Regions from separate parts of the Homo sapiens genome. Here all the other regions are linked to region 1. The links are contacts of gene promoters, found by promoter capture Hi-C in blood cells and fetal thymus (Javierre and others, 2016). All regions are on one chromosome and are shown on one strand. Each heading gives the region's core, a stretch centred on a gene start or on the middle of the fragment in contact. The rest is flanking DNA. Distances are from core to core; before and after follow the strand shown. Region 1 holds the start of SH3KBP1 (SH3 domain containing kinase binding protein 1). Region 2 overlaps SH3KBP1 (SH3 domain containing kinase binding protein 1). Region 3 overlaps SH3KBP1 (SH3 domain containing kinase binding protein 1).

Region 1 (3,104 bases), core at 338-2,837:
CTGCTACGAAAAAAAAAGGTGTTGTATGAGAAAATGGAACAGGAACCAATTTAGACTACAGGTGGGAGAGAAGGGCACTGTGAAAAAAGTGACATTTAAGCCAAGGGGACAACAGATCACCACTACTTAGAAAAGGAAAACCTTTTTTGGCAAATGACCACAAATGGGATTTTAACTTTGCCTGTCAACAACGGACTGGGTTAAACCTCCTCTTTTCCAATCCTTCAGGCTTTCTGAACATCCTGACTAGTGTACTGGAATCCTATTACCTGAACACAGAAAGGTCTCACTTTATTATGATTTATTATTATCTGCAGCCTTCCTATGCCTGGCCTAGGAACATCCAAAAATAATCTGCCAGAGGCTGAAAAACAGAAGCTGGCTGTCAGCAAGAACATTACCTGGGTAGACCAAACATTTAATAGCCCAAGTAATCATAAGTGCCTTGCCAATAAAGTGGCAGCTTCTCTGGGCAGCAAGGTGGTTCCAATGCTCCGGGGTCTAAATCAAATGGGACCCAGGGGGTTCAAAGGTTAGTTGGCTACTTCGAACTGATGTTTACTCAGTAAATCAAAGACCGGATCACCATTTCCAGGTCCCAGACCCTGAAGACTTAAAGGACAGTATGGGAAGTGGCCTTTTAGCATCACGGAGCAGAGAGCTCGCCAGGCTGGAGGAAGGCAGCAGCGAAAGGGTCGGGGCCGGGAGGAAGGGGGGCGCAAGGAGAGGAGCGTCAGGTGCTCTGGACCCCGGGACTGCGAGCCAGACCAGGAACTGGGGCGTTTCCCGCCCCACCCCCCAACCCCTGTCAACCCCCAGCAAAGGCAACCCAGCCCCCTCCAAGACCCCGAGGTTCCAGCTTCCCCCGAGACAGGACCAGGAAGACACCAGCAGCCCCGCGCAGGGCCGGAGCCCACCAGGTCCGGGTGCCCGTGTCCGCAGCGCAGAGGAGGGCGCGCTCGGGTGCAAAAATGGCCAAGACAAAACTCTCCCCGCCCACCCGAAAAACCAACCACACCCCCTGCATCCCTCAGCCCGAGCCGCCCGGGGCCAGCCCCCGTGATCGTCTGCTCAGGCCCCCGCGGGTTCCCGTCGGCGCCGCGCGCGGGCTCGGCGGGCACACGGGCGCAAGTGGGAGTGAATGGGGGTGCGCGAGGCAGGCGAGGGCGCCCACCGCGGTGTCCCCCGTCCGGACCCTGCCCCCGGGGCGCCCTCCCGGGCTCCGCGGTTCTGGGACTGGCGCGCCGCCCTCAAGGCTGAAGTGGACGCCCGGACGCGGGCGGCCCCCACTCACCCATTGGCGTCGAGCCGGGCCGGGCCGCCGAGGCAGCGTGAAAGTTGGCGGAGGCGGGCGTGGGGGTTGGGGCGCCGGGATCGGGGCGCTGGGATCCAGGCGCGAGGGTCCGGACGCGGCGGCGGCTGGGCCGGCTTCTTCCTCAGTGGCGGCGGCGGCGGCTCAGCGCCGCCCGCTGCTGCCTCTGCTGCTGCTGCCGCTGCTGCCCCGGGGCGACTCCTGCTGCTGCTGTTGCATCGCGGCCCAATGCGCCCGGCTGCGCCGGGTTTCCTGCTCCCCGCGAGTGGAAATTGCGAAAAAAAAAAAAAAAAAAAAAAAAAAAAAAAAAAAAAAAAAAAAAAAAACAGCGCCGCCCAGCCCAGCGCCCGGCAGCCGCGGCCGCGCCGCCCGCTCTCCCCTCCTCCTCAGCGCTGCCGCGAGGCTCCTGCAGCTCCGCCTGCCGGGGACGCGCGGCCGCCGGGCGGGGGCGGGGCCGGAGAGGGGCGGGGCCGGGGCCGGGGCCGCGTCGGGGCAGGCGCCGGGGGCGTCCCTGCGGCTGAGGGGCTTGGGCGCCCTCCTCACCGCCCGCGCCAGAGGCACCCCTCTCCGCGCGGCTGCCACCCACCCGCAGCGGCTGGGCTGACGCCCCGGGAAGTGCCGCGAGACTCCTCGAGACCGGAGGAGAGGGGCTTCTTGGGGGAGGGGCGTGGGAGTGCAGGGGCACGTGGAGAAGGAGGAGAAGGGGGCTGAGCGGGAGGGGGCGACAAGAGGTGGAGGACGGGCTGGGGATGGAGACCAGGGCAGGCCCGGGGCCAAACGCCTGACCAGGGTGATGGCAGGTGGCCCTGGGGCATCGAGGCAATCTGGAATGAGTTTTCCCGGGGGGCTGTTGGAGGGGAAGGAAAAGGGTCCCTTGGAAGGGAGAGAAACGCGGCGTCCCTTCGGTGGGGCGTGGGAACGCAGGCAGGCCAGGTGCGAGTTCCGCACAGAGGAGGCGGTGGCACTGACGTGGGGAAAAACGGGCGAAGGACGCAGCGGGGCCGAGGGGACGCATCGCCTCGCTGGGACCCGCCTAAGCCCCGCCCCAGTGCCTGGGCCAGGTGCGGTTCGGGTGTTCAGGAATGTTCCCGAGCTCTGACGTTCCCAGGAATCCGCTGAGATGAGGGCTGGCTCCCTCCCTAGCAGGCATTATTGTGCCTTACTGACTCCCAGACCTGGACGGCCGACCCTTGAGTGGGCGCTAAAATGTTAACAGGGAATCCGTGGGCATTCGTGGGCAATTCAGAAGCTCCGTTTTGGGTCCATTCACCACCACACCTTTCGCCATAGATACTCTGCCTGCCACCACATTCCTCTACCGGCCCGTTATTTCCTTTTCCCTTTCCACCATCTGGTGGTAGGAAGCGATAGTGAACTACATGGGAGACATTTAGGCAAAGAGCACGTAAGACAATAGAGAAATTACATCAGTGGCCCCTGGAAATGGAGGAGGCTGAGGGCTAGTGGACTCAAAAGGGACAAATGAAAGCCGACCCCCTACCCAAGAGAGGGGCTGTCTCCATACCTCACCTGTGTTGGCGGGGCAACTCTTGTAAATTGGTTACCGTCCTGGGATTTCTGTAGAAAATTGTTCTTATAACTGTTTCATGAGTTTTTCAAAAAACCTCAAAGTCAGGGTCTTACAAACAAGAGATCAGTAGCATCATCTTTCTAAATACCGTTCATGTGTGTCAAACCGATCGAAATAGGAGACTAATCAAGGGACAAGAGGCCCATCCACACAGAGGCTGCAATTGAAGTCCTAGTGTCATCAATATCAGACTCCTAAAAA
Region 2 (3,104 bases), core at 186-2,685, 130 kb before region 1:
AGAAGGATGGCTATCTAGAGCTGAAGTTGTCAGGAACCAGACACAAGTGGGCACCGAGAATTGGACTCACCCTGTAACCATGGTTACATGCATCTGGCATGTGTCACTTGGGGCATGGTACTGTTATTCCTTCTTCCAGTAAGGAGCAGCTAGATTAGGAAAGGCATCAGCCTGGCCCAAGCAGCTGACACTTCAATTCCTGGTTCTGATACCACTGAGAGCGTAACCTTGGTGCCTCAGTTTTGTTAGTTTATCAAACCATTCTGAAGATTAAATAAGATCTTGTGAATAATGGCACAGCCTCTGGGTCCCAGGATTCTCTGGCTCCATCAGTAGGAGGGAGAACCCCACCTGCCAACAGACATGGGCCAGGGGCTAAGAAGGGATGGTTGAATGCTAAAAGGAAAAACTTTTTAGTATGCAACTCCTAGTGTGGTTGGTTTTGAAGAAGTTTCAAAAAATTTACTTGAAGCCGTGCACTGGCTCCCTCAGAAGGCTACTGGAGGGTGCATTCCATCAAGTCAAATGAGTAAAACAAGAAAGAGAAGGACGCAAGATCCAGGACAGTCAATGAGAGAGAGGAGGCGGCGGAGGTGTGATGGGAATTTCCTGGCTGACAGCTGGGCAGCAGAGTGGAACAGGAGGTTGGAAGGCTCTGGTGTTTTTCCAGGAGAGGGAGAAGGAGAGAGGTAGAGAGGGGGGAGGGGAGGGGGGAGAAGAAAACAAGGAGGAGGGAGGGGGGGAAGAGAGAGAGGGAGGGAGAGGGAGATGGTGGTGAGAGAGGGAGGGAGAGAGAGAGAGAAGAGAGGAAGTAGGGGAGAGAGAAAGAGAGAGAGGGAGGGACGAAGAGGAAGGAAGGACAGAGAGAGAGAGGGATAGAGAGAGAAGGGAGAGAGTGGGGAGGGAGGGGGGAGAGAGAGGGAGAGAGGGAGATGGGGAGAGAGGGAGGAAAGGAGGGAGAGAGAGAAATAAAGCTATATACGTAAGTTAATTATAGTATATTCTTGCTTCAATATTCAATATCAACATTGCTACATTAATGAAAACATTAAGTATAGATTAAAGCAAAACCTGAGATATGTGCATATAGAGAAAAGCTGAAGTCCTCAACTACCATGATAGTTAAGAGATCATATCTAGAATCGACAAACCAAGAGAGCAGCAATGAATATTATTCAGAAGCACAGCAGCAAATAGTAGAAGCAACAGCTAGAACTGAAGAACGACTGCCTCCTAGAATATAAGGACACAAAGAGAAGGGACAAGAGGCTGCTGGGTACTCACACATCTTTTAGCAGCATATGACTTTCAAAACTGTGTGTGGGTAACCACTCAAAAATTAATAATTAAAGGTATACATGTTCATTCCAAAAAATACATAACAAGAGGACACAAATGGACTCTTACTATGTGTGCTATACTGCAACTTGCTTTCTTCAACTTAACAATGCATCTTAGACAACTTCTCCATCAGAGCTTTGCCCCTCTTCCTCATAGCTGCACAGAATCCAACTGTAGGATAGACCAGTATCAAAAGGGACAGTCTGGTTGTGTCTGAAAGTAGATTTTGGAACACGGAAGTGAAACTGCCTTTGCGAAAATTAAAACTGAGGAAATTATGACAATGAAAGAGATCAGACCTAACCGACTCCATCTTGCTTCTAACCTTTAAGCTGTCCCTGTTCGTTCCTGGGCGTAGGCCGAACTAACCTTGGAAAAGAATTTAGTTTACGGTTTGACTGTAAAACAAAATTGATAATAGCCCTTTCCAGAAAAGACCCTCTTCTTGCCTGGGGACCAGTATGCCTTTGGAGGGCTAAGAAATTAGCTGCAAGATTAGAAATTACAGTTTAGGGGTCATGCAGCTCCTGGCAAGAGTCTGAACCTCCCCAAATTGCTCCTGGGGATAACATCACTACTGTAAAACCTAAGATCAGTGCTTGAGGTATTTTGCAGACCCTCTACTAGATCAGCTGACACCATCCAGACTGGTAAACTGGCTCAACCAGTTGTGCGATCCCACCCAGGAACATAAGATAGCAAGGAAACCTAACTTTGACCCCCACTATGATTCCATCTCCAACCTGACCTGAATCAGCACTACCCACTTCCCAAGCCCTACCTGCCAAATTATCTTTAAAAATTCCAATTCCTTGAGTAATAATAAAACTCTGGTCTCCCACACAGCCAGCTCTGCAGGAATTACTCTTTCTCCACTGCAATTCCCCTGTCTTGATAAATCGGCTCTGTCTAGGCAGCAGGCAAGGTGAATCAGGTGAGCTGCGTTATTTGTCACCATACCACAGATGAAGGCACAACAGTTGTCCTCATTGGCTCTTCTGAAATGCTCATGGAAAAAAGATTTGTGGCACAGCAAACTTTGGCTGTTTCTGAGATCTGGCAAAATCTCCCTTGCCATTTAGACCACTGGAAACCTGCGAGTGGAGATTGGTATCTGGGATATACCTTTTATATATACCTCATACGCTCCTGCCTGAGGCAATCTCCTTTCTAAATTTCTGTATCCTTGGCTGGTTAAACGGGTAACTTATTTGAATCTTGCTGGGTAGGAGATAGTTCTCTTCTCACAGAACTATAACCCACATGAAACCACCCAGTTGTCTCAAGTCCTCTGCGATTACAAACAACACTACATTGAGCATCACTGTGCCCATAACTCTGCACATATACCACAAAGGCAACTGAGGGACAAATTCCCTAGAGTGAAATTTCTGGGTCAACAACTTGGTGCATCCTTACTTTTAGCAGATAATAAAAAACTGGCCTCCAAAAAATTTATCAATTACACTCCCACCAATAGCATGGAAGAGAGCTGATTTCCCCATACTATTTTTAAATGTCTTCATTTTTGCCAATCTGATAACAGGAGATGATATTTAATTTGCATTTCTTTAATTAGTAAAAAATAAGGTTGAACAGCTTTCCATATGCTTACCGTTATCCACTTGTCTTTTTCTGTGATGAGCTTACTCATGTCTTTTGTCAATTCTCCTACATAGCATCCTGCTTTTCCCTCTCATTTCTAATAGCTCTCTGTATATAAAAGAAGTGCCCCTGGGGCTGTCATATGTGTTGCAGAATTT
Region 3 (3,104 bases), core at 270-2,769, 93 kb before region 1:
AAATTTTAAAATTAGTCAGGCATGGTGGTTGCACACCTGTAATCCCAGCTATTTGGGAGGCTGAGGTGGGAGGATTGTTTGAGCCTGGGAGGTTGAGGCTACAGTGAGTTGTGATCACACCACTGCACTCTGGCCTAGGTGACAGAGCAAGCAAGACATTGTCTCAAGGAAAAAAAAATATATATATATATATATATATATCTGGCTAAGAGGCACCCGTGCTAAAGTGGGAATGCACTGATCGCTGAGGCGGAATACCTGGGTTGAATCCTGGATCTGCCTCTTTTCTAGCCGTGAAGCCTCAGGCAGGCAACTGTACTATCCTGCTGATTACCCCATCCTCCTCTATAAACTGGAAATCCCACCACTGGCCATCCACCTCCCACCTCTGAGTGCACAAGAAGCTTCAACACAATAATATGGGAGAAGAGGTTTTGTAAACTATAAAGCACCATGCACATGTGAATGCTATTATCATTCTAGGGTAGTAGTTGGCCAAGTTTACTAATGAACACACACTTAGGGTTTCAATGAGTCTTTACCTAGCACATTCCCACTGCCCTGAGTCACATTAACCTACTTCAGATGCTAACTTGGCAGTGATTTTTACTAAATACTGAAGCTGAAAAACATAAAGAGTGGTTTTCCTATATTATCTCTCCCTTGGCTTAAACTGTGAAGCACCAGAACTTAGTGATCAGACAACATGACCTGGAATCAGACTCCCAGGAAAGAATCCCACCTTTACATCTTACTAGCTTGGTGACCATGGAAAGTGATGTGGCTTCTCTGTGTCTCAGTTTCCTCATCTGTCTATCCAAACCAGAACATTTCAGAGTGAAATGGTTTATCATCTGACCAGGACATCTGAGAATGAAAGCAGGTGATGTCAATGTTAATGCGAGGACAACAGGCATACACCAGAACGGTCCCCAGGCAAGTAGAGGAAATAAGGTGGCTCTAAAAGAAGGGATAATGCTGGGCATGGTGGCTCACACCTATAATCCCAACACTTTGGGAGGCCCAGGCAGGCAGATCACTGAGCCCAGGAGTTCAAGACCAGCCTGGGCAACATGGTGAAACCCTGTCTCTACAAAAAAAAAAAAAAAAAAAAAATCAGCCAGGCATGGTGGTGTGCAACTATAGTCCCAGCTACTCAGGAGGCTGAGAGGTGGGAGGCTCACTTGAGCCCAGGAGGTCGAGGCTGCAGTGAGCTGTGATTGCACCATTGCACTCCAGCCTGGGTGAGAGTGAGATCCCGTCTCAATAAATAGATAAATAAATAGGCCGGACATGGTGGCTCACGCCTGTAATCCCAGCACTTTGGGAGGCTGAGGCGGGCGGATCACGAGGTCAGGAGATCGAGACCATCCTGGCTAACATGGTGAAACCCCGTCTCTACTAAAAATACAAAGAATTAGCTGGGCTTGGTGGCAGGCGCCTGGAGTCCCAGCATCTCGGGAGGCTGAGGCAGGAGAATGGCATGAACTCGGGAGGCAGAGCTTGCAGTGAGCCGAGATAGCGCCACTGCACTCCAGCCTGGGCGACAGAGCAAGACTCTATCTCAAAAAATAAATAAAATAAAATAAAATAAAGAAGAAAATGATAACAGTGCCTGCCTCACAGCCTTGTAGTGATGACTAAATCAGATAAAAGAGGCAAAGCACACAGTACACACTCATTAAATGCTAGCTACGATTTTTTTTGTCCTTACTCCTTCCATTCATTCAGCAAATCCTTAGTGCCCAGGCATGACTCTGGGTGCCAAGAAAGTAACAGGAAGTCAGTGAATAAGAGCTTATCTGATCAACAAAGACAAAAGGATTTATTATTATCCCAAAGTCCCTGATTCAGGAAAGCTATTTCAGTTTGACTAAAAGTGAGCTATAAATGAATCCCATTAAGTTGTATTAATTAATGCCCTTTGTAACTTAGCACTCAATGCTTCAAGGCATGTTACGATATTCGCTCCCTTTCATTTCTATGCACACCCCATTATGATGAATTACATATGGCATGTCCACCAAGACAGCTTTACAGAACCCATACATTATGAAAGCAAAGTTGCTTTAGCTTGCTTTTGCATGGAGATGCATCTGTATCTTTTGCCAAGAATTAAGCATTTTAGTTCAGTATACTAGAACAATTTTCTCTAAAAGTCAACACTCACCATGAGAGGTAGATATTCCTTATTTTACAGAGACGTTCTTTAACCTCTAGGGGCTTGGTGCTGTAATCACAAATTCCTTTTCCTTCCTCCTTTTGCCGCCCTCCATTTCAGTAAAATTGGTCTCAATTACTATGACCACAAATTCTCACACCCTAATGTTTCTGTACTCAACTACGGGGCCTTGCCCTTTCCTCCTCCTCCTCCTCCATGTTCACATTTTACGAGGCACATTCTCAGTCAGCCCTCCTTTTGTGCTAATTTCTGAGGCCATTACAGAGGCCATATTCCACTCCTTCGGCAATTCTTAGATCTCAAACAAATACCAGCCAGACCCCATCACTGGAAAGGCAAGCTACGGACCTCCAAAAAGAGTCTGCCTATGGAGTAAGCTGTTTGTGCGTAATTCACAACAAACTGAGGGGCTATCAGTTTCTGTTGTACTTCATGCCTCTGTCTTGATTCAAAGAAGCTTAAATCAATGGTGTGTGTTTTGATCTCGTGCTAATTATGCAGATGTGTTTAGTTTGTAAAAATTCAACAGCCGTACCCTCATGCGCATTTTATGTATGTCTATTATATTGCCATAAAAATTCTTTTTAATAGCTTACACCATGTAAACCTCTATATAAACTAAGCATAGTTTACACCTCACCTACACTAATGTCCCTCAAACTGTTTTCAAATGGACTGCCACCAATCGGTGGGCCACGTAATCAGTTTAGAAGGTCCTGACAAGCATCTGTTGAATGGAATGGAGAATACAAGAGGGCATCACACACAGTGAAGGCAGCTACTGTTTCAGGAAACTTACCTCAGTTACATGGGATGTGTACCGTAGACCAGGTTGCCAGATGTTTTTTTAACTGCAGAACTTGGTTGATATAGCCCTGGGAGACACTGAGTACATCAACAAATAAAAGATGAATTTGGGAGT

Evidence for each region. The method cuts DNA at HindIII sites, captures the fragments that hold promoters and counts their contacts. A CHiCAGO score of 5 or more calls a contact.
Region 2: a fragment that was not itself captured here is called in contact with the fragment with the promoter of SH3KBP1 in region 1 in 10 of 17 cell types (activated CD4 T cells, monocytes, total B cells and 7 more); the score reaches 9.7 in activated CD4 T cells.
Region 3: a fragment that was not itself captured here is called in contact with the fragment with the promoter of SH3KBP1 in region 1 in 12 of 17 cell types (activated CD4 T cells, naive CD8 T cells, total B cells and 9 more); the score reaches 13.8 in activated CD4 T cells.

Annotation. Positions count from the first base shown.
Region 1 is chrX:19,886,013-19,889,116 of GRCh38, forward strand. It overlaps SH3KBP1 (SH3 domain containing kinase binding protein 1), which reads right to left and starts at 1,588. Exons shown (of 18, transcript NM_031892.3): 1 at 1,295-1,588. The coding sequence starts at 1,298. RefSeq lists silencers at 990-1,129, 1,610-1,679, 1,740-2,039. The HindIII fragment of the contact is 9,463 bases long and covers 1-3,104 here.
Region 2 is chrX:19,760,468-19,763,571 of GRCh38, forward strand. The region is part of intron 2 of SH3KBP1 (SH3 domain containing kinase binding protein 1); the gene reads right to left. Among named protein-coding and RNA genes, the nearest start is that of SH3KBP1, 130 kb to the right of the region's middle. The HindIII fragment of the contact is 4,616 bases long and covers 1-3,104 here.
Region 3 is chrX:19,793,137-19,796,240 of GRCh38, forward strand. All of the region lies in intron 2 of SH3KBP1 (SH3 domain containing kinase binding protein 1), which reads right to left. Among named protein-coding and RNA genes, the nearest start is that of SH3KBP1, 93 kb to the right of the region's middle. The HindIII fragment of the contact is 2,235 bases long and covers 403-2,637 here.